7 separate regions of the Homo sapiens genome follow, and all the other regions are linked to region 3. Evidence: promoter capture Hi-C in 16 types of primary human blood cells and fetal thymus (Javierre and others, 2016). All regions are on one chromosome and are shown on one strand. Each heading gives the region's core, a stretch centred on a gene start or on the middle of the fragment in contact. The rest is flanking DNA. Distances are from core to core; before and after follow the strand shown.

Region 1 (4,173 bases), core at 1,234-3,733, 420 kb after region 3:
TGAGATCAAATGAACTAATAAATTTAAAATTCTTAGCAAATAGCTGTCTGAGAGGAAGTTCATAATAGGAGTTGTGGTTATCAACATCAGAAGATTCCTCTCCAATGCTTGGTCCTTCTGCCCACACCTCCTCCCTCCCCCAGCCAGCACTCGTACAGAGCCCCCGGGGCATGCAGAGAATCCCCCACCACTACTGCCGTCAGAAAGGTGCTCCAAGTGGCCTTCTACTGGGTCTCGCTGCAGAGTCCCAGGCTCTGGACACTGGGAAAGACAAGGGGTGGGAGGGGGCTGCCAAACCCTGCAGCAGCAGGACCATCCATCCCTGAATAAAAAGGCTGTCACCCCTTCCGTCCCACCCTCTCCCTCCTTTAAATAACTCAGATCTGGCCAGGCGCAGTGGCTCACACCTGTAATCCCAGCACTTTGGGAGGCTGAGGCGGGCAGATCACCTGAGGTCAGGAGTTTGAGACCAACCCGGCCAACGTGGTGAAACCCCATCTCTACTAAAAATACAAAAATTAGCCAGGCATGGTGGCAGGCACCTATAATCCCAGCTACTGGGGAGGCTGAGGCAGGAGAATCGCTTGAACCCGGGAGGTAGAGGTTGCAGTGAGCCAAGATCGCGTCATTGCACTCCAGCCCAGGCGACAAGAGCAAAACTCCGTCTCAATAAATAAATAAATAAATAACTCAGATCTGTTGCCCAGTTGTCTCCAGGCAACACCACTCCAGGCTCCCAAGGATGTCTCACTCTGACAGAGCCCTTTATGAAGATGCTGCAGGGAGGTGGGGGTGAGGAAGGGGTCAGGGATCTACGGAGGCCAGGCCTGACACAACCTCCCAGGGGCTTTCGTGTGACGAGCTCCAAGGCTGACACTGCTCTGGGCTAGTGGGCACTTGGAGGGGTTGCTTACCAGGCACATTCCAAAGGCCGAGGCCCCCAGACTTGCTAGGAAGGTCCCAGACTCTGTGAAGCTTCGGGCATGAAGAAGCCAAAGCAGTGCCTTGGGAAGGTCACTGGCCAGGGTTCAGTTTCCTGCATGCCAGGCTCAGTGCCAACCCTCACTGGCTGTGTTATCCCAGCCAGACCACCACTCTCTGAGCCTCAAAGAACCTAAGCGCTGGAAGACAGTTTTGCTGATGGGTGGGAAACAGATATTCTCACACTTTTCTGGCAGTATCCATGCAAATGACAAAGGCACAGACCCTTTGCCTCAGCAATTCCATCACTAGGACTTTCGCCTAGAAATGTGCTTGCATGTGTGCAAACTGACAACTGAACAAGGCTATTCATAGTTTGAGTGAGATGATGAAAGAGAAGATTGAAAGGTCTGTCAGTAGAGAGGTGATTGGCTAAACTATGGAACATCCAAAACTAGGAACACCGTGCAGCTATTTTAAAACCCAAGGCAGATGTATGTGAGCTGAGAAAAAATGCTTGCTAGAGTAAAGGGCAAGATTCAGAGATGGACATGGACAAAGATGACCACAGTGGTGTTGACCATGACAGTGGGGTGCTGGAGGCAGCCTCAGTATCTGTCTCTAAGGTGATGAATAAGTCACATGGATTCCAACCACAGAATCCTGTCCGACAGTTACACCCACCCAGATGCACACACACAAATGTGCAGCGAGCTTGGAAACCCAGTATCCAGGGATAAGAGTAATAAATGTATAATACTATCGAGGCTGAGTGCGTTGGCTCATGCCTATAATCCAAGCACTTTGGGAGGCCAAGGCCAATGGATCACCTGAGGTCAGGAGTTCAAGACCAGCCTGGCTAATATGGAGAAACCTCGTCTCTACTAAAAATACAAAAATTCAGGCCGGACACGGTGGCTCACGCCTATAATCCCAACACTTTGGGAGGCCGAGGCGGGAGGATCATGAGGGAGGTCAGGAGTTTGAAGCCAGCCTGGCCAACATGGTGAAACCCCGTCTCTACTAAAAGTACCACAAAAAAAAAAAAAAACTAAATTAGCCAGGTGTGGTGGCGCATGCCTGTAATCCCAGTTACTCAGGGGGCTGAGGCAGGAGAATCACTTGAACCCAGGAGGCGGAGGTTGCGGTGAGCCGAGATCGTGTCATTGCACTCCAGCCTGGACAATAAGAGTGAAACTCCACCTCAAAAAATAAATACATAAATAAAATAAAAATAAAAATACAAAAATTTCCTGGGCGTGGTGGTGCGTGCCTGTAGTTCCAGCTACTTGGGAGGCTGAGGCAGGAGAATCGCTTGAACCCAGGAGGCAGAAGTTGCAGTGAGCCAAGATCATGCCACTGCACTCCAGCCTGGGTGACAGAGTAAGATCCTGTGTCAAAAAATAAAATATAATAAAAAATAATATTATTTATTATATAATAAAAAATAATATTATTTATTATATAATAAAAATATTATTTATTATATAATAAAAAATAATAAATCACACTTATAGGCTTGTATACACACAGTCAACCTCTGGAAGGCTGTAGAAGAGGCTGAAAAGAGGACTTAGTCCTAAGAGGGGACTGGGGTCTGGGAGAGGGGAGCAGACTGACCTCCCACTATCCTACTGCATAGTTGAGTTTTTTACACCATGCATTTCTGACATTCTAATAATTAAGACATTTGTCATTTTAATTTGGAACATTCTTACATATGCACAAATGTAGAGAATAGTATAATTGATTCTATACACCCATTGTCCAGATATGACAGTTATCAAGATTTTGCCACACTTGCTTCATCTACTGTTTTCCTTTTCCTTGTTGGAGTGTTTTAAAGCAGCCCCCAAATATCACACCATTCACCCCTTCTGCCATCAGAATACGATGGACATAATAAATGCAATTTAAAGAAACAGAGTCAGGGCCGGGCATAATGGTTCATGCCTGCAATCCCAGCACTTTGGGATGCTGAGGCGGGCAGATCACCTGAGGTCAGGAGTTTGAGACCAGCCTGGACAACATGGTGAAACCCTGTTCCTACTAAAAATACAAAAATTAACCAGGCACGGTGGCGGGCGCCTGTAGTCCCAGCTACTCGGGAGGCTGAGGCAGGAGAATTGCTTGAACTCAGGAGGCAGAGGTTGCAGCGAGCCGAGATTGCACCACTGCACTCCAGCCTGGGCGACAGAGCGAGACTCCATCTCAAAAAAAAGAAAAAAGAAACGGACTCTAAGAAGCCAGTCAGTGCACCCTGCCAGACCTGGAGCAGCCCTGTACTAAACCCCCTTGCCTCTGCTTGACTATTCCCAGCAATGAGGAACTCATGACCTGACTCAGTCTCCTTTCTTGTGGTGCTAGCTGAGGTCTAGGCTTCTCAGAAGGCACAGACACCAGCCAGCCCACCCACCCTTTGCATCTTGCAGGCACCCAGCAGCAGGCAGGGGTGGCCCAGGGGAACCCAGCCCAGCTTATCAGCCCGCTCACCTCTACAGCAAACTCAGAAGCATAATGCATTCAATGCACATTCACTTCAACTAGCAGCCGCCGGAGCTCCGCTGGCTTGGAAGGCCCCTCCAGACACCCCCAGACAATCTGAGATAAGCATTCACGGTCCAGCAGTTAGGAGTAAACAGTTGTTCCCCAGCCTGCCTGTGTGTGCATTTGAATCACTGGTGGAGGGGTTACACGACAGACTCCCAGGCTCCGCCCAGCCCTCCTCAGCCAGAATCTCCAGGGCTGAGCCTGGGAAAGCCCCCTCGGAGGGTTTAAGGCCACGGTAGAATGTTTCACATTTGGGAATCCATGTTCCAAGGGACTCCGAGGTAATCCTCTGGCTGATAGGCCAATCTGACCCTTAGCCGCCTGCCAGCCTGGGGTGAGATGTTCCCAACTCCAGCTGGCAGAGGCCCCAGCGATGCCAGCTCCTCTTAAGGGTGGGCTGGCCAAGGCTCAGAAGGAACACATGCAGTCCCTAAATCCAAGGTGCCTTCCGCGGCTAGAGGTAATGGATTCAGAGATGGTACCGTGCCCCCTCCACTGTGGGTAGATAAAGGCAAGCTTTAAAGCCACGCTACTGGATTTAAATCCCAGCTCTGTCCCTTACCAGCTGTGTGCCCCTAGTCTCAGTCTCTTCATCTACTATAGGACCATAATAAGAGTCCTGCCTCAGGAGAATTGCTTGAACCTGGGGGGCGGAGGTTGCCGTGAGCCAAGATCACACCACTGCACTCCAGCCTGGGTGAC
Region 2 (4,007 bases), core at 1,242-3,741, 410 kb before region 3:
GGCACCAAGCTGATGCCCTGGCTTTGAGTCTCCTGCTGTTCGGTGAGATGGGCAGGTGGAGCATTATCCCCACACAATGGGAAAAGAGCAGGGTCTGAGAGTCTGCCTGGCTCAAGGACCAGTGCTCTGAGCATGATGCTCCTCAAGGGAGCAGTATTCTTGAACTTTGCATATCCAATCCTGAGTTGCTGATTTGCCACAAATGGTGGCAAAAGGGCAGCTGGTCTGGGAGATGGTCGTGGCTGTCAGGCTGCCTGCCCTGCCTGCCCCTGTGAGACCTTGAGGACGAAGGCAGATGGGGATGGGCTGTGGTTTGGGATACTCACCGGTCCATAGAGAGCTTCTGTGCTAACATCCGCCAGTCATTGCCCCGTGAGTTGGGGGCATCTAGGCTGTTGCATATCTTCTGGCGGATGGACAGTGGGATCTTGAAGGCATAAGGTCCCAGCTGGGTGGTGACAGTGCTGCCAGGGGCAGAGCAGAGAGTGTCCAGGGAGCCAGCAGGTGTCTGCAAGGGTGGGGGCCAAGAGTGAGAGGGGCACAGTGCTGGGCATCTGCCCTCCAGCCTCCCTCCCCTTGGACTGTGAGCTCATTGAGCCTTGAGTCACTCCCACCTCCTCTGGACAGACTCCCACTGTTCAGGCAGGGGCTTCTCCCTTGAAGGGTCGGTTCCCAAGGGCAAGGCCTGCATGGCCACCCTTCAGGCCTCAGGGGGTGCACCATGCTTACCTAAGGCCCCAGGCAAATGCAGATGCAGCCTCATGGTTAGGAAGCCCCAAGGAGGCCCAGCCACAGTCTAATCCACATGCACCCTCTTGTACAGGTGGAAAGTGAAGTCTAGAAAAGGGGAGTGGCTTGCTCATGGCCACATGCCAAGTTAGTGGCAGACCTGGGTCCAGACCTGTATCCAGTGCTCTTTACAATGCCCCAAGAGGAGGATCTAGTGTTGTCACCCTGGGTGGCCTGGGTTTTTAAATCTCAATCCGGATTTTTAACGGTTGAGAACCACAGGCCTGGTCCTTGCATCAACCTGGGTTCGAATCCAGTCTTGCCACTGGTGTACTGTGTGCAAATCCTTGCCCTTCCTAAAACCTACTTTCTCACCTCCCAGGTGGGGATGATATCTGTCATGCATCTCCCGGTGCTTGTGAGATCATGTAAGTTTTTTGGTATATGCCAAGCATGTGAATGGCACTCAATCAATAAATGACACTTGTTAGAAAAACATGACCAGATACCCGCTCAGACTTGGGAGGTGAGAGGGAACTACAGGGTTCTGTGTGCTGCAGCCCAGCCCCAAACCCTAGAGGTATCCTCTGGCCCTCACCTCCACCAGCGTGGTGTGCAGCTGGAATATCTGGCGGCCCTTCCCTCACCTATGCCACAGTGCTGTGCAGCCGGAATATCTGGCCGCCCTTCCCTCACCTCCACCAGAGTGGTGTGCAGCCGGAATATCTGGCCGCCCTTCCCTCACCTCCGCCAGCGTGGTGTGCAGCTGGAATATCTGCCCCACCCTTCCCTCACCTCCGCCAGCGTGGTGTGCAGCTGGAATATCTGCCCCACCCTTCCCTCACCTCCGCCAGCGTGGTGTGCAGCTGGAATATCTGCCCCACCCTTCCCTCACCTCCGCCAGTGTGGTGTGCAGCTGGAATATGTGGCCCCGACTTCCCTCACCTCTGCCAGAGTGGTATGCAGCTGGAATATCTGGCCCTCCCCTTCCACTTGCCGCACGCAGATCTTGCAGGTGAGCTCTGTGGAGGCCAAGCTGTGCCTCTCCAGGGTGAAAGTGCAGTGGAGGGCCTTCTGGCTGCCACTCCAAATGTGATAGAAGGGGATCTCCTGCAGGAGGAGGGGGTCAGGACCAGGCAGGCAAGGCCAGCCTGCCCTGTCCTCATAGAAATGGAGGCTCAGGGAGGGTTGGGAGCTTTGGGGGGCAGTTCAGGCCTCTCCACCCAGATAGGGAGGGGTCAAGTGCCCTAAGCTAGCCAGCTGAGTTGGTGTCAGGCCCTCAGTTCCAGAAGGGAGCTGAGGGTGGGTAGGTGGGGGAGGGAAAGGCACAGGTGTGTGTGTGTCAGGGGCTAGGGGGCCTTGTGGTCTCAGGCGCTGCTGGGTGGGCAGCGGGCTGTGGCTGTCAGAGATGAGATGGGCAGTCTGCCAGGAGGGCATGCCCTGAAGGGTGAGGAGCCTCTGTGAGGATGAAGGGCATAGTCGTCTGTGCGTGTGAGGGTGTGACAGGGCAGAAGTGTGCATGTGGCTGCCCATTGCCCTGAATTTGGGGACGTGCCTGGGGATGGCTGAAAGCCTAGAGACTGGGGTGGGAGGAGACAGAGACAGTGAGAGATCCAGGGAGGGGTAAGGCCACAGGACAGAGCTAGGAGGCAGGGCCCGGGAGGGAGCTGGGCTTCCCGGGCAGCCCTTAAGTGGTGCCCCTCCCCATCCATCAGCCCAGCCCTCACCTGGTATTTGGCCAGCAGCTTGCTCCTCCAATGGGCATGGGGGAGGTCATGGAGGGAGAGGCGCAGGTTGTGGTAACTGTCCTTGAACATTAGCGGTTTCGGCTCCTCCACCAAGTATCCGCCCAGAGTCCGCTCCAGCTCCAGCACCTCCTGTGGGCCAGGGGCATGGGGAAGGGGAACCCATCACACCTGGCCAATGGGCCTCTTCTGTGGCACTGTGCGGGGCAGGGGGCAGGGGCCCATCTGAGTGCATGGCTGGGCATTTGCAAGAGCTCACAGAGGGCTTATGGTGTGAGAAGATGAATAGATGACGGATGGATAGACAGACAGTGGGAAAGATGACTAGATGAATGAATCTATAGATGACCGTATGGCTAGAGGGACTAATAAATGGACAGATGGATGGATAAACGGATTGATGGCTAGAAAGACAGACAGATGAATATACAGATGGATATACAAGGATGGGTATATGAATAGAAAGATGGAAGAAAAGATAAATGAATGGATAGACGAGCAATGACTGGGTAAACAGATGGGCTGCTGACTGAATGGGTATATGGTCAGATGAACAGAAAGACAGATGGATGGATGAACAGATGGACAGATGGATGGATGGAGGGTTGAATAAACAAAGAATGCCATCAGGCCCAAACCTGGTAACTTCTCTCTTGATTTCTATACCACTCTCTGGCCAAAGCTGGCCATTAGCCAACGCCCCAGGACCAAGAGATCCAGCTGCAGGAGCACTTCCCAGGCACCTTGCACCCATCACAGGGCCACTGGCATCTCAAGCCAGGGTCCTCCCAGCAGGGGACACTCCTTCTCCCATGGGCCTTTCACCTATGTTGTCTGCAGTGTGGGCTTTGGGACAAGTCCCATGAGCCTGGGAGATGAAGGAGCTGGACGGGGCCAGGGAGCAGGAACAGAAAGTGCATGGAGCCATGGGAAAGGACCATGAGGCGCTGAGGAGGGCAGATGGGAGGAGGGAGGGGAAGGGGCTCACACACGGCCAAGTGTCTGTATGCTTCCAGGGTTACATCAGGATGAGCCTGAGCTCCTGAGAATGGGAGGAGAACTTGGGGGAATGCACAAGGGCTCTGAGGCTGGCAGGGGACAGTGGTGCTAACACGGGGCTCCATACCTGCCATCATCAGGCTCTAGGTACTAAAAGACCCTTCCCTCCCCTTCCCTCCCTCCTGTCCCAACCACCCCTCATCTGCATGACCCTTCCTTCACTTGGGGCACCGCTCTCCATCCTTCTGCATATGCTAGGAGCCTGGCTGTCAGCCTTAACTTCCCTCTCCCACTGCCCATCCCATCAGTCACCGGTTCTGTCCATTTGACTGAGCACACGCAGCATCCAGCCCCGCCTCTCCTGGCTGCTGTCACTCCCTGTGGCCCAGGGTCCAACCCCAGCTTCCCAACAGGCCTCTCCACCTCTCATCTACCCACCCAAGTATAGCCACAGGGGCTTTCTAAAGAGCACCTGTGAACAGGTGTCTACCAGGTCCATTCCCCTTCCTGCCGGATGGATTCCAAATTCCTTGG
Region 3 (4,187 bases), core at 622-3,121:
TCTTAATTTTCCACTAAATACTCTGTTTTGTAAGAAACAGACTGAGAAATGTAATATATTTACATAATACCATTTACATAAATTTAAAAATACACATAGACGAAACAACACCACACATTTTGCAAGAACCTGTGCAAACAAAAATACACATTAACACATTAGAGAGGCTGCTATGGGCGGTGGTGGGGGGCGGGGAATAAAAGTGGAGCACAAGAATAAAAGTTAATAGAAAAATGTGAAATGTGAGAGGACTTTTCTAATCTGACTCTAAGACTTATTATAAAGCTATAATAATCAAGACAAGGTAGTGTTCTGTCATGACAGACAAACAGATCAATGGAACAGAAGAAAGGGCTCAGAAATAAACCCACATGTATACAGTCAATTGATATTTTACAAAGGTGCAAAGACAACTCAGTGGAGAAAGGAATAACTGAGTCGCCATGTGCAAAAGTGCATCTGGATCTATAACTTGAAGCATATAAAAATATTTACTCAAAGTGGATCACAGACTAAATGTAAAACCAAAAGCTATAAAACATAGGAGAAAACTTTTGATCTTGGGTTAGGCCAAGATTTCTATGTGTACAACATCAAAATAGAAATCCATAAAAGAAACATTTGATATATTGGATTTCATCAAAATTAAGAACGTTTGCTCTTTGAAAGGCACCATAAGATAATGCAAAGAAAATATTTGCAAATCACTGCCTGATCATGTCCTTATATCCAGAATAAAACACCCTCAAAACTCGATAAGAAGACAACCCAATTTCTTTTTTAATGGGCAGGAAATTCAAACATGCTATTCAATAAAAAAAACTTATCCTTAGCAAATAAGTACATGAAAAGACATTCAATACAATTACTAATCAAGGAAACTCAAAACCACAATGAGATACTGCTACACACCAATTAAAATTTAAAAGGCTGACTATATCAAGTGTTGGTGAGGACAGAGAACTGCAACCTTCATACACTGCTGCTAGGAATATAAAATGATACAACCATTTTGCAAAACAGTATGGCAGTTTCCTAATAAGTTATAAAAGTCCACCTACCACATGACCCAGGCATTCCATTCCTAAGTGTTTACTCAAGGAAAATTAAAACATACGTACTTTCGAAGATTTGTGCACCATATTCGCAGCAGCTTTATTTGTAATAGCCAAAAGGTAAACAACGCAAATGTCCAATAGTGAATCGCTAAACAAATTGTAGTCTATCTGTACAATGCAATACTATAAAATAAATTTTACTTAGCCATAAAAGGAAGAAACCATTGATATAGGCAACAACATGGCTGAACCCCAAAACAGTTATCCTGCCTAGTATATACTCTATGGTCCATTTACATAAAATTCTAGAAAATGCAAACTAATTTATAGTGACCTAAAGTACATCAGTGCTTGCCTGGCCAGGTGGTTTCGGGAGGAAGGGGTTACCAAAGGGCAAGGGAAAACTTGCAGGGATGATGATATGTTCATAATGTTGATCTCGGTGATGGTCTCACGAGGGAAACATTAAAATTTATCAAATTGTACACGTTGAATATGTGCAATTTATTGCATGTCAATTATATCCAAATAAGAGATTTTTATAAAGAAAAAAATAGGTATTCTGGCGCCCAGGGCCACCCAGCTGTAAGCGGCGGGGTGGGATTCCAACCCAGAAGCGGGCATTTGGAGCCCTCATGCTTCACCCTAGCTCCCTGAAACAAGCACGGAGGATGGCTCTGAGCAGCGAGGAAAGTGCTGGAAGCAAGCAGGCCGAGCGCGTCCCTGGCTGGGGACGTTAATCATTACCGGAGGGCGGCCCGAGCGCGGCCCCGCCCCGGGACGGCAGCCTGCGCGCCCGGCCGCCGCCTGCCCTCTCCGCTGGCCACCTGCTGCCGCCCGCGCCATGGTGAGTCCAGGGGTGCGCGGCCGCGATCGGGGCAGCGGGGCCGGGGCAGCCGCGGGCGAGGTGGGAGCGGGAAGGGGCGGGGGAAAGTCTTTTCGAGTCCCCTGCGGAGCCGCCGGGGTCCGAAAGTGGGGTCTCTGCCCGGCTCTCTGTCGCTGGCGGCGGGGAGGGGAAGCTGAAGCCCTGAGAGGGGCGGTGGCGGGTTCGAATCCCACCCAGTTGGGAGGCCAGGCCTGCCCTGACCCCGGCCAGTGCTTGTTCCGGGACCCTTCCGGGGGCGGGGCCTACGACCTTCCTGGGCCGGGGAAGACAGTCGTGGAGGAGTCCACGGATCTCGTCCCCTTGGTGGCCCGATTCTGCTTTATACTGGGGTGGGAGCGAGAGGGAGGCTGAGTTTGCGCGCTCGTGTGCGTGCCTGTCCGCTGCCCCTTCCCGCTGGCACTCTGGGTACGGGGTCTGCCTGGGACTCACGCTCTGCGCCGGTATGCTGGCCCCAGAGCCACTCCCCGCGCCGGCTTGAGGCCCGTGCCAGGCCACGGGGGCTTGGTGGCGCTGGAGCAGCCCTCCTCCCGTGAGCTTCCCCCACCCACCCCCGGGGCGGGGGCGGGGGCGGGGCCCTTGCTCTGCTGTAAGCTCGCGAGCTTCATCAGACCATTTCTGGTCCACAGGCCTTCGGAGCAGGCAAGACTGGGAGGGCCTTTTGATAGGAGAGGGACTTGGGGGAGGGAGGATGAGTGGGGCTGTTTGTGAGGGGCGCTGAGGTCCCAGAGATGCAGGCTTGGGAAATCGGTAACCACTCCCCACACCTCGCCAGAGGAGGCAAACGGGGCAGCGTCCCCCTCTCTGTCTCCAGAGCCGGCACCTGGAAGGTTTGTCAGTTCAGCCGCAGGCTGTGCGACCTGGGGGGTTCCAGAAGGCTCTACCGAGAAAGGGAAGCCTCCTAAGAGCTCACCTGGACTCACCCACCCCTTTAAGAGCCAAGGAAGTAAACAGTGGGCTCTGATGCTTTGGCTGACTTCTGGTTGTCTAGATACACGGACCAGGCGGTCAGCCACGGGGAGAAGGCCAGCTCTGGAGTAGAGACCTACCTACTGGGCAGATGATGCAAATCGCTGCTGCCATTCAATCCCTATAGTCATCCAGAGCCGAGGGGAAGAGAGGGGCCAAGCTACATCAGTCCAGAGAGAGCTCACGTTTTCAGGAGGGAAAACAGCAGGGAAAAAAGACGGACTTAGGAAAGCACTGCGATGCTTCAGCTACCCCAAATGCTACCAGGCCCATCACAAGCCTGCTTGCCTTAGGAAGTTTTTTTTTTGTAATGCAGATGACATTTGCTTTATAGCAGTGGAGTTTCCTAAAGTGTCCCATTGGCACCTCATGATGATCTGTGGAGGTGGAGGTTCTGCCAAGAGAGGTACAGCCACCTGGCTGGTAAATGGTGAAAGCGGGTCTCAAAACTCCTGCCAATCAACACATGGTGTCCAGTCTGCAGGCTGCCTCATAAAAGCTAAATCAACCTCCCTCACATTCCCTCCCCACCCCTAAGGGTATCTTTTCAATTCAGCACTCTATTTCTGCCCTGGGGTGGTGCTACTCTAGAAGCCTAGGTTCTGGGATCTGTTAAGCTCCTAGACCTGGATCCTCCTAGGATGAAACTGACCCTTGCTTCCTTGCTTTCTCTGAGGTTCCACTCATGGCCTGAATTGTGCCAATTTGGGCTGCCTTGAGGGCACTTCGCACATTAGGTAAATAGGATGGGGCACTAGGTTTGCCAGCTGCCTTTGGCCAAGTTCCTTCCACTTTGGCCTGAGCTTCCCAACCAGCCAGAAAAGCAGACGGAAAACCAGAGAAACCTAGCCCTGGCGGCTCAGGACCAGAGGCTGCCTGGGAGCATGACTGAGGACCTACTAGAGGTAGTGCCAACGGCGGTCAGCTGCAGTGTGGCTAAGAATGGGATGGACACTTATTTTAAATGTAGCTCCTTCGTCCAGCCCCAGCAATGCTGACACACAGACAACACTGCGCCATCACTGGCTAGGGGTGGGCGGGAAAGAACAGCAGACAAGTCGTTTCCCCTCTCTAGGCCTGTTTCCTCTTCAATACACGTGAAAGTTACGGTAGGGACGTGGGGTGCATATGATGAAGTACATAATAGGAAAAGGAAGGGGGGAGAGTCATGGGTACTCTTCCTGAGAGGTTGTGGAGTAACATATTTGCATCTGGGATTTATTTTGCTTTTACGCCCTCACTGATGTAATAATCTCATGGAGGGAAGGTCCGTAAGG
Region 4 (4,287 bases), core at 1,200-3,699, 390 kb before region 3:
TGGCTGGGCACAAGCCGTTGGGGGCTTGTCCTCTTCTGCTAACTGCCCAGAGGACACAGTGAATGAAGCTGTGGGGTGGCGCATGGCCGCCCAGCCCCTCCAGCTAGAGGCCCCACCTACAGCGGAGGGAGGGGAGCGGGTGGTGTCCCGGGAGGCCTGTGTGGCCACTGGGATCGTGCACTTGTTCTCTGGTCTAGGAGGCCACATCTGGCTCTAGGGAGTCCCCCCTACAGTCAGAGGGGCCAAGGGGACACCTGGTTTTCCAAGAACAGAATGTCTGACTATGCTTTCTCTTTGTGGACCAGGAGACCATGCTGAGACTGGGGAGCTTAGGAGAAAATGCATGAACTATCACTGGCTTGGGGCCTAGGCCCTGGGCAGTGTGTGTACGGGCGGTGGGGGTGGGGTAGCTAACAAGATGACACATGACTCCAGCTCCATCCAGCATGTTCTGTAGGGCCCAGGGAGAGAACCTTAACACCTACCTCGTTATGTCTGATGAGCACAAGAGGTGGACAACCTTACCCCGTCTCTGGGCTGCTCTGAGGATGAGACAAACATGCATGAACACCTAGGCGGTGCCTGGCACACAGTAGGTACGTACATGTTGCTGCATCGAACGAACAACTAAGGCTCACCCAGCATCAGGTGCTATGTTTGCAGGAATTTAAGTTGTTAACTTATCGAATTCTGGCACCAACCCTGTAAGGTATGTTCTATTAGACCCCATTTTAGAGATGGGTAAATGGGAGGCTCAGGGAGGTTAAGCAACTTGTCCAAGGTCATACAGCTAACAAGAGGCAGATCAAAAGTTTGAACCTGAGAAAAGACTTCAGCGTTTGGGCTGTTGCCCCAGACTCCACACCACCTATCATTGATCTACGTAGCTCTGTAATGGTGTAGGTGTCTCCACACCCAGGAATCCTAATAGCACCCTGACAGGGCCAGAACTCCACAGTCCACAGGGCTCTCTCATCAAGGGACCTGCAAGGCTGGAAATGTCCTCATTTCAAAGCAGAGGAAACTGAAGACCATTCAGATGGTTCCCATGACTTGCCCGAGGCCACCCGGTGAGTGGGTAGCTAATGTGGGAAGAGCAAGGCAGATTCCTGAGGCCAGGCCAGGGCTCCCTGACACCTGCTTCCCACTGCCAGGTACAGGGATACATTCACTATAGGCAAACTGGTAGCCCCCTAGGGCTGCTTGGGGATTTGATGAGGAGATGACACAGTGACTTGATCACAACCCAGGGAGCTGAACATTGGCTTTCAGTGGCCTGAGAGCTGGTTGCTGTGCATGCCCTGAGATGGCCACTGAGGCCTCCCTGCCAGGCCAGACAGCTCTGAGATAGCAGGATGGAGCCAGGAGGGCATCTGGGCAGCAGAGAACCTGCCAGGCTCCATGCCCACCACCCACCACCAGCATCTTGTCTCCGTCTCAGCCCTGAGGGGTGTGGGACAGAGCTCTGCCTTCAGACTCAAGAGGCCCCTGGGTCTGAACCAGCCCCTTGCTGGCCTCAGGCAGCTCATCTTTGAAATGGCAGGATTGAGCCTCCCTCTGGGGGCAGGTCATGGCCACAGGAGAAGGGGCATGGGGGCCCATGGGTGCATGTCACGTGCCTGCCCCCATCTTCTAACCGCACCACCCCCAGCCCCGGGGTGACAGCCGCCTCTGTGCTCTGCAGCACTGCAGGCTGTATTATGACTTTGTTTTATAACTCTAATGCAGACCATTTATTAAGTGGGTGCAGACATGACTGAGGAAAGCAAACATTAGACATCCATTAGTGCAGCAGGCCCTGCGTCTGGCAGCCCCACCGCCCTACTCTTCCTACCCCGCCCCTCCTCTCAGCCCTGGTGCAAAGATTCAGCTCTGGCCTTGGCAGGGGCGCAGGCCAAGTGTCCCCTCTGTGCCTCTCTGTTGCAGCAGTACCGGATGGCTCTTGATGTAGCTGTTGCCCTCTTGCTGTCCCTATACCCTAGGTGTCCTGGAGGCAGAGACTGCCAGGACATAAGGAAGAATGAGAGGCCCACCTGAGGTTCCTGCCTGGAGGGACCATGAGTGGACTCTGCTGGCCAGCACACAGCAGGTGCACAGTGAATGCAACTTCAGTAAGGGAGTAGGCCGGGCGCAGTGGCTCACGCCTGTAATCCCAGCATTTTGGGAGGCCGAGGTGGGTGGACTGCCTGAGCTCAGGAGCTCGAGACCAGCCAGGCCATCGCGGTGGAACCCCATCTCTACTAAAAATACAAAAATTAGCCGGGCATGGTGGTGTGCACCTCTAATCCCAGCTACTCGGGAGGCTGAGGTGGGAGAACTGCTTGAACCCGAGAGGCGGAGGTTGCAGTGAGTGGAGATCGCACCACTGCACTCCAGCCTGGGCGACAAAGTGAGACTCTGTTTCCAAAACAACGAGAGCCCTCACTTCTCCTTGGCCCTGGCTTGGGCCCCAGTGACTGAGGAAGGCTTGAAAGGTGGGCTAGATGAGAGCGACCTATGGCCAGGCTGCACGGATACCAGCTGGGTGGGAGAATAATGGGGTCTCGGGGTTCCTGGATGCTTACCCTGCCAGGCGCCGCTCAGAGAGTGGTTCATATGAACTCAATGAGCTCCATAATAACCCTAGACAGAGATGCACAAACGTTTTGATTTTTAGTGCCTCAGTAATTTTTTTTAAGCTATCCCAAGGCCAAAAAGAAGTCCCTAACAGGAATGTATTAGGTAATTAGATCCAAACAGCTTTGTAAATATTTATATCCTAAAATCTTAGGATAAATTGAAAGAAAAAATATATTTTTATCCCATTCCTAATAGCCACAAAGACTTACGAACAGGGATGTGTGCACCTGTCGGGCACTGCACAACTTCTCAAACTTTGGAATCCAAGCGGACACCACTATTCTTACTGTTTGTCATGGGTTACTCAAGTGCCACAATCCCAGCTTTGCAAAGATATGGTGCCAAATAAAGGAAAACAGAGTGATATGATGCTGAAACTGAGCTACCTGGAGCTACTTGTTGGTGCAGTGTCTGACAGCTATCTAGTATTACCGTGTCTCCCACATTAAAAATATCCCACAGCTTCCCTGTGAGTGTGCTGATGAACCCTGGGATAACTTGGCAGGTAGTTTGGGAACCACAAGCCTATGAGTTGGATATGATTATTATCCCCACAGTGCAGATGAGGAAACTGAGACCAAAAGCGTTTAAGTGACTGGCATAGAGCTATAAAGCTAGTAAGTGGCACCGCTAGGGGGCAAATTCAGGTGATCTGATACTAGAATCTGTCTTCCGAGCTCTGCTGAACTGGAAATGGGCATTTAGGTCTACTATGTGCTACTCCTTGCAATTCTTCCCATTTTACAAATGAAAACGAGGGGCAACAAGGGACATGAAGGGTCACCTGGTCGATGGCAGGAAGCAAGGCTTGAGCCATGTCTCTCAGCCCTGCCTCCCTGGCCTCTCTGCAGGACTTCCTGCTGCTCCGTCTCTACAGAGGAACCACATCTAAGACAGGCTCCCCTAGAAGTTCTTGCCTCAGCCAGGCCGGATCTGGGTTTCCTGCTGGCAGGAAAATTCCCACATGAAGTGTTTTTTCCCAAGAGTAGAACTCGTTTGGGCCTAAATTGCAAAAGTGCAGCCTGCCTTTAAAGCTGCATCCAAGAATGGTCCAGATATCCCGCCAAGAAGCTATGAAAGAAGACACATCCCTGCACAGATGTAATGACAAGACAGTCAAATGAAGGACACGAAAGATCGCTGGAGGCAGAGGCCCTGGGTTTGCATCCCAGCTGGGGACTGGCATTGCTGTGTGGCCATTCTCTCCCAGGCCCTGGAGTTTCTGTCTGTAAAATGAGGAGGTTGGCCAAGTCAGTCTCTCAAGCCCTCCTCTGCTTCTAACACTTTGAGGTTTAAAGATCCCTTATGGGGAATCTGTTCATGTGTGAAAATGTCCTGTTGAGTAAATTTTTTTCTTCAGAAAGCAAATTTGCTTAAATTAGGGTCACTTTCCTTGCCATTGCTATACGGTGGTCCTAAAGCAGAGCGTAGGTAGAACCCAGGGAAGGAGGAGGAGGAAACACTGTTGGGCTCGCCTAACCATGCTCCAGCCCACCCATCCCAGGCCTTAGATCAAAATGACCACCAGCACCTCTGGATGGGACCTCCGAGGGGTGCCATCCAAACTCTCACCTCTAATTTGCCTTTACCTGCCTCTTTATGAGGTCTCTTTATGAGGTCTCTACATGAGACCTCTTTATGAAGTCTCTATAGAAGTTACTTAAAGGG
Region 5 (4,297 bases), core at 1-2,500, 360 kb before region 3:
ACCCCACTGTGATCTCACCTGCCCCTGGGTGTGGAGAGCCACAAAGCCATCCTTCTGGAAGGAACCTCTCGGATCCTCTCCCCTTGGGGTCCTCCGCCTTTCTGGGACCTCCATGCCTCCTCAGCGTCATACCTCTCCCAGCGTACAGTATGCAGCCCCCCAAGCCACGCCAGTCTTGTTGACGAATGAACTCCTACCAGGTCTCCCTTACCGAGGGCAGCCTTCACCAACTGCTGGGCTTCTGAACTGGGGGCTGGTTTCTCCTTAGGCTTCCACAGGCGGGAGTCTTGTTTCCCAGCTAAGCCACCAGCTGCCTGAGGACAGCCTGAGCTTCAGTTCTCTCGGGGCCGCCCCCACCTCCACCTCCAGCCAGGTGTGCCAGGCCTTCCGCACACCCTCGCTCAGATACAGAGAGGAGGGAGCCATGACGCCCAGAAATGAGGAGGGTGCTGGCGGTGTATCACCAGTAAGTCACAGCCCCGTGTCCTTGGGACTGCCCTGAGACCAACAGAGCTGATACGATTTGCTCTATTTTCACAGGAGGCAGGATGACAAGCCGGGTCACAATGGAACGGGAGGACACCAGCTTGTGGCACCCCACCTGAGCACCCAGAGTGCCTACAGAATAGACAGGGAGGGCCAGACCCATCTCCAGAGGGCAGCTGTGGGTGGAGCAGGGACTCACAGGAGCCCACAGAGCAGATCTAGGACTGGCCCAAACCTAGTGGCCATGTGGCACGGCGAGGCTGGCATGGGACCTAGTCTGTGGCCATGCTGGCTACCAGGGATGAGGTGGCATATTCTCTGGATGAATCCACCCCTTTGCCTCCCCACATCAGAGACTAGCTGGGCTGCCTCTCCCCGCCAGCCCACCCAGAAGGACAGTTCAGACCCCAAGCTCTGAGGGCTCAGGGCCTCTCAGTCTGTACCACCAGGCCCTACTGGGATTCTGCTAAAGAAGACCTGATAGAAGGGTCCCCCCTGCCAGACTCAGCCTCCATTACCCCATCAATAAGACAGAGCTAGGCTCACGGTAAACGCGAATGTAGGTGCGAATACCTTGGGATCTTGTCAAAACGCAGACTGATTGTGGTCTGGGACAGTGCTGAGGCCTCGAATTCCTAACAAGCTTCCAGGTGATGCTGGTAGCAAAGCTCTAAGGGGCTCCCAGCTCTAAGCCCTAGCTCCCAGAGAGATGGTGTTATGGAGAGAGCACACGTCATGTAGGATAAAAAGAAATCTTTTCAAAAGTGGTCCCCAGGGTTGGGGGAGAGGAGGTCAGAGAAGGGAGCCCGGGGACAATAGTGAATAGAATTGGGATTATTTCCTGAACTCTGATTCCTCGTGGGAACGAGGTTTTGAAAAGCTTTTCTTAAAATGGTTATTATTTAGTGGCCTGTCCAAAATAAACACACACATGCACTGCACGGAGCCAGGCAGGAAGTGAGGAACATCTGGGAGACATCTGGCTGCTGGAGAACTGAGAAGTGGGTTGGGGAGGGCCAGCGGGAGCTGGAGGCGGTCTGCGTGCCATGGTCGCCCACAGTCACACAAGCACGCCAGCACGCCCCCGCCGCCAACCAGTTCGGCGCACACAGGCATGCATGCATGCACACAGGGTGTCCCTAGGACCTGCAGGACCTTGCTGGCAGCGGCTGCAGATCGCGGGTTCTCGGAAGCGGACATCCTAGCTCTCAGGATCCGCCTTCCCTCCTCCCTCCTCTCCTCTTGGAGGTTGTGATATTTATGACTTGCCTCTCTACGTATGCAAGCTGAGTGTTTTCCTTCCACCTGCTCCCCGGCTAGCCTCAGAAAGAAGCAGGGGCCTGAGTAGGGGCAAACTTAGGGCAAGTCTCCAGGTTCCTCCAGATCTGTGCCCTCTGTAAGAAGGATATGACTCTTCTGCCTGGCTCACTGGAACACTAGAGGCCATTCACCCAACTGATATTTACTGTAAACCTTCTGCAGTGCCAGGCAACGTCCCAGGGGCTAGGTGTCATCTTAGGAGATTATAACCAAACCTTAACACCCAAGTTTAGGGTGTCGTCATAATGCCTGAGTGGCCCTGGGGTGGGGGGCCACCCTTACCCAGCAGGCATTGGCCCAGGCTGTAGGGATGAACCTGCCACCACCCTGTGAAGGCCAGGGCTCAGAGTCTCATGCTGATTATGCCTGGGGGCACCCTGCATCATTTCTGTTGTGGGCGTGTTGTGCAGGGAGTTCCTCCAAGGAGACTAAGAGGGCAGGAACCTTGTGTTGCACAATTCTCTGTCCCTAAAGATGCCTGGCCCAGTACTAGATACAGCAGAATAGGTGATGGCTAAATAAATGGAGAGACCTGGGCTTGTACAAAGGGCACAGTCTCTGCAGACAGACACACCCAGGTGCAGATCCTGGCACTACCACACACCAGCTGTGTGACCTCGGGCAAGTTGCTTCATCTCTCTGGGCCTCGGTGTACTCAATTATAAACTATGGAGAACAATGGTTAGCTCCAAGGGTTAAGCAGCCTGATACATAAGGTCCTTCACGCAGTGCCTGGTATTTGGTTAGAACTCAACCAATGTTATTATCACGAGGCACAGAAGAGATTTTAAAAGTAGTATTCACCCAGTGACCTTAGGTGATCCCTGTAGCTGTGGTTCTGATTTTCCTCCATGTTCCTTCCAGCCCACCCTGGACTGTCTAGTCTCTCCAACCTTGGCCATCCAGGTGGGGTGGCCTCTGAGGAGGGGGTGGCGAAGGCTTCCCAAGCCCCCCGGGGAACAGGGAAGGGAACTAACCCTGGCTGAGAACCTTGGTGTTGGGCACTTGATGGATGGCATCTTCCCAGAAGCCTTCAGAGCTGTGCCATCCAACACAGTGGCCACTAGCCATATGTGGCTGTTTAAACTTTAATTAAAATTAAAAGTTCAGTTCCTTCATCACCCTGGCCATATTTCCAGTGCTCAATAGCCACGTGTGGCTAGTGGCTACCAGACTGGGCAGTGCAGGCAGAAGACGTCCCCATCCCTGCAAGAAGTTTCACTGCACAGTGCTGCTGCAGGGAAGGTGTGACAGCCCCCACTGCACAGATGGGGAAACTGATCTGAAGCCCAGGCTCTTTCTGCTTGGCCCTAAAGCAGCCCCCAGACTCTTTTTCTTTTATTTTTCTTTTGAGACTGAGTCTCCCTCTGTCGCCCAGGCTGGAGTGCCGTGATGAGATCTGAGTTCACTGCAACCTCCGCCTCCTGGGTTCAAGCAATTCTCCTGCCTCAGCCTCCCAAGTAGCTGGGATTATAGGCGCGTGCCACCATGCCCGGCTAATTTTTGTATTTTTAATAGAAAATACAAAATACAGCCTGTTGGCCAGGCTGGCCTTGAACTCCTGACCTCAGGTGATCCGCCCGCTTCAGCCTCCCAAAGTGCTGGGATTACAGGCCTGAGCCACCGCGCCCGGCTCCCCAGACTCTTGAATGGGTGGGCTGAGGTCCTCATTGGGTGTTCCATGGCCCCACCTGCTGGAAGGCTGGGACACACCCAGTGCCCTGCTGCTGGCAGGGCCAAGCCCAGGACAGAGAGAGTGACACCGTGGCCCCGTCTCCCTCACCCAGGCATCATAAAGACACCTCCAACACGTGTGTGTGAGATTCTGGGGGCCGCCGACCAAGAGCCCAGACCCAATCATCTACAGGAACGGATGTGGCAGGAGAGGGCACTGGGCACTCCTGGCCTGCCATGGCAGACCGCCAACCCTCTGCAGGGACAGCCAGGGTCTCACACGGACAATGGCTATACAAGGGCCTGAACTGCAGGGTGACCACATTCCAGCTACAAAGTGGATCCCCCTGGAATCTTGGTGACCACAGGCTGTGTTGATGTCTCTAGAGGGTGGACAGGCCCTGCCCAGGGAGAGGGGGGCAGACCTGACTGTATTGGTGCAGGGCCCAGATGAAGAGGAAGCTGCCCACTCAGCTGCTGGAAAGAAGCCCACGCCAGGCTCTCCTCTCCCTCAGCAGTCTTTCCTCTCTGCTGAACTAGCTCGGGGGACCTCAAAGTACCTCACAATGAGCACTACCACTTTCTGGCCATGTCGTTTTGGGCACTGTGGGCCTCAGCTTCCTCATCCCTACAAAGGAGATCATCTCACCCAGGGGGAGGTGGGGCGAGGTCACATGTCATAGTAACAGACACAGGGTCTGGGCCACGGCCGACGGACGCCACGCAGGAAGGGAGTCACAGGGAGGGCCTGAGACAGACTGTGAGGGAATGCCACGCCCCCCCATGTCCTCTCCCCACTGCACTCCAGGGGGCTGGG
Region 6 (4,339 bases), core at 69-2,568, 470 kb after region 3:
TTTTTTGAGACAGAGTCTCGCTATGTCACCAGGCTGGAGTACAGCTGCATGATCTTGGCTCACTGCAACCTCCGCCTCCTGGGTTCAAGCGATTCTCCTGCCTCAGCCTCCCAAGTACCTGGGACTACAGGTGCATGCTACCATGCCCGGCTAATTTTTGTATTTCTAGTAGAGACAGGGTTTCACCATGTCGGCTAGGATGGTCTCGATCTCTTGACCTCGTGATCTGCCCAGCTCGGCCTCCCAAAGTGTTAGGATTACAGGCGTGAGCCACCGCGCCCGGCCAGAACTGCCTGTTTTTCAAAGTGGTTGTACTATTTTACATTCCCATCAGCAGTGTGTAAGAGTTCTAATTTTTATATATTGTAGCCAACATTAGCAGATATGAAGTGGTTTCTCACTGTGGTTTGATCTTAATTTGCATTTCCCTGATGGCTAATTATGTTGAACATGCTGTTTTCATGTACTTAACAGGCCATTCCACCACATATCTTCTTTTGAAGAAACTGTCTATTCAGAACCTTTACCCATTTTTCAATGATTTGTCTTTATTACTAAATTATGATAGTTCTTTATTCTGGATATAAATCTCTTATGTGACTGCAAATATAGTCTCCTATTCTGTGGGTTATCTTTTCATTTTCTTCATGATCTTCGAAGCACAAAAGTTCTTAATTTTCATGATGTCCAATGTATGTTTTTTTTTTTTTCTTTTGTTTGTGCTTTTGGAGTCATATCTCAGGCCACTGCCTAATCCAAGGTCATAAAGATTTGCCTCTGTCTTCTTCTAAAGGTTGTACATTAATAGCTTTTGCTCTGACATTTAGGTCTTTGAGCCATCTGGTCCACCTTCAGTTTTTCTGTGTGCATATCCAGTTGTATCAGCACTATCTGTTGAAAACTGTTCTTTTTCCACAGAATTGTCTTGGCACCCTTGTTGAAGATCAATGGGCCATTATTGCTGGGTTTATTTCTGGACTCTCAATTTTATTCCATTGATCTATATGTATATCCATATGCTAGTACCCCACTGTCTTGACTTGTAATAAGTTTTGAAACCACAAAGTGTAAGTCCTCCAACTTAGTTTTTCTTTTTCAAGATTGTTCTGGATATTTTAGGTCCCTTAAAGTTCCATATGAATTTTGTCAGCTTGTCAAAGAAGCCAGCTGAGATTATGATAGGGACTGTGCTGAATGTGAAGGTCAATTTGTGGAGTACTACCATCTTAACAATATTAAGTCTTCTGATCCATGGCCACCAAATGTCTTTCCACTTATTTGGGTCTTCTTTAATTTCTTTCAACAATGTTTTGTAGTTTCCAGAGTAAAAGTTTTATGCTTTGTGACTAAAGTTATTCCTATCAAATTGTTTTCATGCTATTGTAAATGGGATTGCTTTCTTTTTCTTTTCTTTTTTTTTTTTTTCGAGAGAGGGTCTTGCTCTGTCGTCCAAGCTAGAGGGCAGAAGTGCAATCTTGGCTCACTGCAACCTACACCTCCTGGGCTCAAGCGGTCCTCCTGCCTCAGCCTCCCTAGCAGTTGGGACTACAGGCACATGTCACCCAGAAAAAAATAATTTTTGTATTTTTTGTAGAGACGGGGTTTCACCATGTTGCCCAGGCTGGTCTTGAACTCCTGGGCTCAAGCCATCTGCCCACCTCAGCCTTCCAAAATGATGGGATAACAAGCGTGACCAGTTTTCTTTGTTTTTGCTTTTGAGATGGATTTTCCCTCTGCTGCCCAGGCGGGAGTGCAGGGTGTGATCTCAGCTCACTGCAACCTCCACCCTCTGGGTTCAAGTGATTCTTCTGCCTCAGCCTCCCAAATAGCTGGGATTACAGGTATGCGCTACCATGCCCAGCTAATTTTTGTATTTTTAGTAGAGATGGGGTTTCACCATGTTGGCCAGGCTGGTCTCGAACTCCTGACCTCAAGTGATCTGCAAGCCTTGGCCTCCCAAAGTGCTAGGATTACAGGCATGAGCCACTGTGCTGGGCCAAAAACAGGTTTTTCTATATGGCTCTTTTATCTTGCAACCTTGGCAAACTCACCTATTATTTCTAATAGTTTTTTTAATGCATTCCTAAGATATGTTTGATTTTGAATGCCAACACAGTAAATAATTCAGACAACAAGACACACTGAAGAACTAGCGTCTTAATGCTGTAATGTTCTCAAATATAGCCAGGAAAAATATGACTATGAAAGTATAGTATTTATAAGTTTTTGAATTTTAGTAATCTCTGCAAGCTAAAAAAAATTTAATTGTAGTGGGTATAAAGCAAAAATACAGAATCAGCTTGTTAATCACTAATGATTTTAGGGTGTAATTCAAAAGAAACTGACCTTTTAAAAAACCAAAATTATTCAAAGAAAAAAAATTAAGATTCAACCATGGATAAAATGGCAGGAAAAAACCCTTTATTTCCTTTATTGAATATTATGTTTACTATAAACTTACATCAATTCCAAGACAATCTATTAAAAAATCTAAAATATTTAAGGTTTCTTATACATATGCATGCACAGATGTACATTTTCTGAAGCAAGGACTTCCTAGCAATTCACATTTCACCCAGACTCCCTCCAACGCTATGTCAGCTCAATTTAATGTCAACCAATGCAGCCATAAGTAACTAGAAACAAGTTAACCTTAAGCTACTGAAGAAGGAAAACAGACTACACAAGAAATCCATAGCTCATATAACACAGTATTAAAATGGGGCATGATTGTGATCAATTGATGGAGTGTTACAAAAATTAAAAAACAATTTTCCATTCCTTCTCTATGAAAATAATCATGCTCCTTAGTCTTATATTGGAAAGTTATGAAAAAAAATCACAATATTGTATATGCTGTTTGATTTTCAACGTTTATAATCAAACTATAGTAAAAGCATAGAAGAATTAACAGTTAAGGAACAGTACGTAAATGTTACAAACTCTGATTTCTTTTTTTTTTTTTTTTTTTTTTGAGAGTCAGGGTCTTGCTCTATCACCCAGGCTTGAGTGCAGTGGCATGATCACGGCTTACTGCAACCTTGACCTCCTGGGCTCAGGTGATCCTCCCACCTTAGCCTCCCAAGTAGCTGGGACTACAGTCCAACTAATTTTATATTTTGTAGAGATGGGGTCTCATTACGTTGCCCTGACTGGTCTCAAACTCCTGGGCTCAAGCGATTCTCCTGCCTTGGCCTCACAAAGTGTTGGGATTATAGGTGTACGCCACCAAGCCTGCCCACAAACCCTGATATTATAAACATAATGAGGTTACATACCAGCAAAGTAAAGGCAGGAGGACAGGTGAATGGTGTACTTTTATACAGTGGAGAGCTAAAGTTGACAGGTTGAGACACATATTATTTAGAGCTTTAAAGATAACTACTAGAGGAGCCAAAAATGATAATACAATTTACAGAAATTAGTAAATGGAGAGAGGATGAGAAACAAGAGACAGAAAGTAATAAAAGTATCTTAGATTCCTCATCTTTCATAATGGGGAGTTAACAGTATTGTCTAATGTTAAAGAAATCACAGTATACATATATTATTTACAGCAACAATGGTAGCCAGCAAAAGCACTGTAAACAGAAACTGCTGAAAGTGGCTGTCTACTGGCATTTTACCCTCTTTTACATTGTTGAAGTTTCATTTTTCTGCTTTGTTTCAAAATGTACATATTTTTCTTAGTCTTCATGTTTGGATTTCAGAATAGGAAGCTTTAGATCTAGGTTAACATTAGCTATTTATAAATTTTTCATCCCTTAGTGACCAGATATTAGGATAAATCTAATACTTTCATCCAGGACTTTCTAGATTTAACATTACTAGGGAAATATGAGAGTAAAACTGAGTCCCTTTGACAGAGAGGGGGGAAAAACCCTATCTACCTTTGAATCTAAAAACCAGTGATTCTCAAACTGCAGAAAACAACAAGAAGGTCAATGAATAAAGCCCAAAGTTATGCTTGCCAAGATGGCTAGTATAGAAACAAGGTCATTCAAGCGTAACGGCCTCTTTCAATACCAAGTACCTTAGTTTAAATGATAAATAATCCATGCATTAAGCTATATAGTTAAGAAATTATGTAAGCTGAAATTAAACCACACAGAGAAAGTCCACTATAACATGGTTAACTTACAGGGTAGTTGTTAACTATATTTTTACAGGGAGCCCCCACCCCCACCCCCCGGCCGCCATCATAAAATTCTGTTTAACTAAGTCTGCTTCCAGAATTAGAATTAACCATTTACTCACGCAAATAGACAGCCTGGAGAACGAAACATTAAGTAACTTGCCCACAAGCCCTCCAAAAAGGCTGAGATGGACCCACACCCTC
Region 7 (4,352 bases), core at 1,843-4,342, 390 kb after region 3:
CCTGTGAGGCCTGGTTTTCCCCAGAAACAACCACAGGAGGCACCCTGGCCCACACAGTCCTCCCCACAATTGGAGTGTGGTCTGGAGGCCTGACCCCAGGAAGTTCTCTCCCCTCCCTGGGCCTCAGCATCCCCAGGAGTAAAAGGAGCAGGCTGGGCATTGCACTTGACCTCATGTAGCCTCCCTCAGTGGCAGGAAAGGTGGGATGGCTTATCCAGACAGGAAGTGACCTTGCCGGATGAAAGACAGGCCAACATTCCATCAGGAGCCCCCACCTGCTGGTGGCCTGTGGGGTCATGGGAGCCAGGAATGGGTGGGCATACAGAGGCCAAGGAGGAAACAGGATTTACTGCAGAAGGCCAGGCACACGGCAGACCCCCGGCAGGGAAGTGACTTCATTTCACACATTGTCCTCTTCACTTCCGCCCCTGGCATGGGAGGAACTTAACCCTAAGAGGGCCATATTGCACCGGCTCCAGCCAACTCCACACGGACCAGAGCAAGAGAGTCCAAGCTTTCTCCTTCCCCCACCCCTATAATCCCCAATCCACAGATGAGGAAACTGAGGCACAGAGAGGCTGACAGAAGCGCAGGGACTCCAGCACCTTTCCCATTATACCGAGCTGCACAGTGGCGGAAGACGTTAACTAATGGTCGGGAACTCTGGGAAGGCTTCCCGAAAAAGGAACAGAGCTGGGACTTAAAGGATGAGCAACATTTGATAGACCGGAAGGGGGAGGAAGCACACTCTGCACAGAGGGAGCAGCATAGAGAGAGGTGCCTCCTGTATAGTATTGTGGGAAGAATTAAGGTGCTTGTGAGGCCAGAATATAGGATGAGGTGGGGTAGGCCGAACCCCAGTCCCTGGGGACCATGCCAGGATCTTAGGTGTTGCTCTGCGGGGTGTGATGTGCTGCCCAGCTGTGGCAATGGGAGAGAAGCACGACCACGGCCTGTGTCCACCTAGTGGGGCTGCAGGGAGGAGGCACCATGTGGAGGCACCTGAGCAACAGGGTGGGTACTGCTCTGGGACATCTGGGGTGCAAAGCTCACCCCACCAACCCCAAACTAAGAAAGAAGTTCACAGTTCCAATAGTACCACGTGCCAAGGTACCACACACCAGACCAATGAGCAAGCAGGGCGTTGAATGCAGACTGTGTGGGCTCGAGCCTTAGCTCCACCACGACCAGCCTGATGCCCCTGACTGAAGCTCCACCTCTCTATGCTTCAACACCTGTCAGTGAAGTCCATGCCCACACCCACCTCTGAGGCCATGAGGACTAACTGAGAAAACCCCTGTACAGATCCACCTGAGTGTCACAGCTGGAGCGTGACAAAGAGTCACTGCCATATCATTTCTCCAAATAGCCCTGCAGCTACAGATTGTGGCCATTCTGATGCATCAGGAGGCTGAGTGACTTGGCCTAGAACCCACAGCAAAGAAACAGTGGAGCAAAGATTCAAACTCAGGCCGTCTGGCCCTGAATGCCTAGGCTCACACCAGCCCATCAGGCAAAACAAAACCCACAAGAATGAACCTGCACCTGCCAGCTGTGGCTCTCCAGGCCCCCGGGCAGCTTCGGGCAGGGGAGCAAGCACTCCACCACCTCAAACCTCCAGTGGCAGAGGGAGGAGCAGGGAGAAAATGCCAGGCCACGGGAGAGGAAGAAAAATATTTTTAAGTTTCTCCCTCTTCCTGTTTATCTGTCCCTTCCATCCTGAAGTCCTGGTAGCTGTTTTTTCAGGGAAAGTCCTGCCAAGAGGGACATCCTGCCGTGTGGCCACCCCAGGCCAAGCCGCCCCTGCCAGCCTCACACTGCGGGCTCTGAGGCCCACCTCCCTGCAGACACTCCCGCCTGGCCCAGAGGCTGCTGCATAAAGAGGCTTTCAGAAGAAGCTGGGGCCCAGGAAGGGGACCTGGGGCTGGGAGGAGGGGCCCATACCATGGCACCAATCAGCTCCACACTCAGGCCAGAGAGGTGACAAGAAGGATTTGAAGAAATAACTCTAAGCCTGGTATTGAAGAAGGAAGGGCCAGAGCTGGGGTCAGAAACACACAGCACTGGCTGTAGAGCCAGGCAGAACTGGCATCCAAACCTAGCTTGCCCGTGACTTACTGTGTGACCTTGGCTAAGTTACCGAACTTCTCTGAGCCTAGTTCCCTTATGTGTAAAATAAGGATAATGTTAATACCTACTTCATAGGGATATGGTAAGGATTACATGAGACAATGTAAGGAAAGTGCTAGCACCTGGTAAACATAACAAATGCTATTTATTGCCACTCTCACCATCAAGCTGACCCCCTCACTCAATCCCAAAGACGTATGATACCTTTTTTTTTTTTTCTGAGATAAAGTTTTGCTCTTGTTGCCCAATCTGGAGTGCAATGGGGCGATCTTGGCTCACTGTAACTTCTGCCTCCTAGGTTCAAGCAATTCTCCAGCCTCAGCCTCAAAAGTAGCTGGGTTTACAGGCACGCGCTACCACGTCTGGCTAATTTTTTGTATTTTTAGTAGAAACCGGGTTTTACCATGTTAGCCAGGCTGGTCTCAAACTCCTGACCTCAGGTGATCTACCCACCTCAGCCTCCCAAAGTGCTGGGATTACAGGCGTGAGCCACCGCGCCCAGTCTGTGCGATACCTTTCAAATATGCTCAAAAGAACAATTACAGCCTCAAAAAAAAAAAAACAAAACAGGACAGGCATAGTGGCTCATGATTGTTATCTCAACACTTTGGGAGGCTAAGGCAAGAGGACTGCTTGAAGTCAGGAGTTTGATACCAGCCTGGGCAACACAAGATCTCACCTCGATAAAAAATAATTTTAAAGATTAGCCAGGTGTGGCGCACACTCCTGTGGTCCCAGCTACTTGGGAGGCTGAAACAGGAGGATTGCTTGAGCCCAGGAACTTGAGGTTGCAGTGAGCTAGGACCATGCCACTGTGCTCGCTCTAGCTCTGGTGATAGAGCAAGACCCCATCTCTAAAGAAAAATAAAATAAATGTTAACATTTTTTAAAAGAAATGAATTCTGACACATGCTACAATACGGATGAACCTTGAGGACATTATGTTATATGTTTAAGCCAGACACAAAAGAAGAAATATTGTACGATTCCAATAATATGAGATACCTTGGTCAAATTCAGAGACAGGAAGTAGAACTGTGGGTGCCAGGGCCTGGAGGAGAGGGAGTGGGGAGTTAGTGTTTAATGGGTGCAGAGTTTCAGTTTGGAAAGAAGGAAAAGTTCTGGGGCTGGATGGTGGTGATGGGTGCACAATATGGATGCTCTTAATGACATTAAATTATACAATTTTAAACGCCCAAAATGGTAAATTTTATGTTACGTATATTTTACCATGGTAAAAGAAAATTAAGGCCTCGTTAAAAAATGTTTTTAATAGGCCAGGCACATGGCTCCCGCCTATAATCCCAGCACTTTGGGAGGCCAAGGCGGGCAGATCACGAGGTCAGGAGATCAAGACCATCCTGGTTAACATGGTAAAACGCTGTTTCTACTAAAAATACACACACACACACAAATTAGCCAGGCATGGTGGCACACGCCTGTAGTCCCAGCTACTCGGGAGGCTGAGGCAGGAGAATCGCTTGAACTCGGGAGGCAGAGGTTGCAGTGGGCCGAGATCGCGCTACTACTGCACTCCAGCCAGGGTGACAGAGCGAGACTTTGTCTCAAAAAAAAAAAAAAAAAGTTTTTAATGCCTATATTCATTTCTATCTCCAGCCCTGCAGAGCTCAGGATGGAGAGATGGAGCAGATATGGAAAGAGCTAAAGGCACCACCACCCAGAGAGTTGGCACAGTCAGGAGAGCTGTGCGAGTGGCGCTGAGGAATGACCCAAACGCTACCTCGGGTCAGGGAGTTGGCGGCCTTGTGGCCAGGCATGCGCCGGCCCCAGACAGGCTGGGTCTGAGCGAGGCAGCTGTGCACACCTGCACCCGCCAGGAGCACACGTGAGTAGAAGGTGTGTGCAGGGCTCTGCTCAGATCTTCATCCACGTATGTGCACCATCCCAGGCTCAAGATGCCAGTACAGCCCCTATGTGCTGATCGGGGTCTGTGCCTGGCCAGCACCAACATCCAACAAACAGCAAGCCCTCCTCATCTCTCCCAGCACCAACCACCACGTAGGGCAAACTGCAGTCTGGCCACTCGCTCTGGAGCCAGGGATGGGGAAGGAGGTGGGCGAGGAAGGCAGAGAAGACTGCTGCTTCGTGGGCACGCCCAGTGAAACGAGACTTGGAAATATGGCCCTCCAGAAGCCCCCCTACCCCCAACTCCAGCCTGCCCACTCTCCCACAAGGCTGCAGCTGGGAGTGGGAGGTTGTTA

Evidence for each region. The method cuts DNA at HindIII sites, captures the fragments that hold promoters and counts their contacts. A CHiCAGO score of 5 or more calls a contact.
Region 1: a contact is called between a fragment that was not itself captured here and the fragment with the promoter of PCBD1 in region 3, in 4 of 17 cell types (naive B cells, total CD8 T cells, activated CD4 T cells and 1 more). The highest score is 8.5, in naive B cells.
Region 2: a contact is called between a fragment that was not itself captured here and the fragment with the promoter of PCBD1 in region 3, in 3 of 17 cell types (M0 macrophages, endothelial precursors and M1 macrophages). The highest score is 5.9, in M0 macrophages.
Region 4: a fragment that was not itself captured here is called in contact with the fragment with the promoter of PCBD1 in region 3 in 3 of 17 cell types (endothelial precursors, fetal thymus and M0 macrophages); the score reaches 5.9 in endothelial precursors.
Region 5: a contact is called between a fragment that was not itself captured here and the fragment with the promoter of PCBD1 in region 3, in 1 of 17 cell types (M1 macrophages). The highest score is 5.2, in M1 macrophages.
Region 6: a fragment that was not itself captured here is called in contact with the fragment with the promoter of PCBD1 in region 3 in 4 of 17 cell types (activated CD4 T cells, total CD8 T cells, M2 macrophages and 1 more); the score reaches 5.1 in activated CD4 T cells.
Region 7: a contact is called between a fragment that was not itself captured here and the fragment with the promoter of PCBD1 in region 3, in 1 of 17 cell types (activated CD4 T cells). The highest score is 5.0, in activated CD4 T cells.

What each region holds. Positions count from the first base shown.
Region 1 is chr10:70,468,773-70,472,945 of GRCh38, reverse strand. It overlaps a transcript of PALD1 not described here. Among named protein-coding and RNA genes, the nearest start is that of PALD1, 7.9 kb to the left of the region's middle. The HindIII fragment of the contact is 3,012 bases long and covers 978-3,989 here.
Region 2 is chr10:71,294,410-71,298,416 of GRCh38, reverse strand. UNC5B (unc-5 netrin receptor B) reads right to left here. Exons shown (of 17, transcript NM_170744.5): 14 at 2,457-2,606; 15 at 1,675-1,839; 16 at 327-508. Among named protein-coding and RNA genes, the nearest start is that of SLC29A3, 23 kb to the left of the region's middle. RefSeq lists an enhancer at 2,150-2,957. The HindIII fragment of the contact is 7,740 bases long and covers 1-4,007 here.
Region 3 is chr10:70,886,249-70,890,435 of GRCh38, reverse strand. PCBD1 (pterin-4 alpha-carbinolamine dehydratase 1) reads left to right here and starts at 1,871. Exons shown (of 4, transcript NM_000281.4): 1 at 1,871-1,905. The coding sequence starts at 1,903. RefSeq lists silencers at 1,755-2,004, 2,335-2,614. The HindIII fragment of the contact is 14,850 bases long and covers 1-4,187 here.
Region 4 is chr10:71,274,569-71,278,855 of GRCh38, reverse strand. The region is part of intron 1 of UNC5B (unc-5 netrin receptor B); the gene reads right to left. Among named protein-coding and RNA genes, the nearest start is that of SLC29A3, 43 kb to the left of the region's middle. RefSeq lists an enhancer at 1-23. The HindIII fragment of the contact is 5,590 bases long and covers 1-4,287 here.
Region 5 is chr10:71,242,095-71,246,391 of GRCh38, reverse strand. The region is part of intron 1 of UNC5B (unc-5 netrin receptor B); the gene reads right to left. It overlaps LOC112268061 (a long non-coding RNA gene), which reads right to left. Exons shown (of 2, transcript XR_002957083.2): 1 at 19-4,297. Among named protein-coding and RNA genes, the nearest start is that of UNC5B-AS1, 26 kb to the right of the region's middle. RefSeq lists an enhancer at 1-224. The HindIII fragment of the contact is 237 bases long and covers 1,132-1,368 here.
Region 6 is chr10:70,412,245-70,416,583 of GRCh38, reverse strand. The region is part of intron 1 of EIF4EBP2 (eukaryotic translation initiation factor 4E binding protein 2); the gene reads right to left. Among named protein-coding and RNA genes, the nearest start is that of EIF4EBP2, 10 kb to the right of the region's middle. The HindIII fragment of the contact is 4,807 bases long and covers 1-3,721 here.
Region 7 is chr10:70,496,927-70,501,278 of GRCh38, reverse strand. The region is part of intron 1 of PALD1 (phosphatase domain containing paladin 1); the gene reads right to left. Among named protein-coding and RNA genes, the nearest start is that of PALD1, 20 kb to the right of the region's middle. RefSeq lists enhancers at 819-1,578, 1,579-2,340. The HindIII fragment of the contact is 5,152 bases long and covers 517-4,352 here.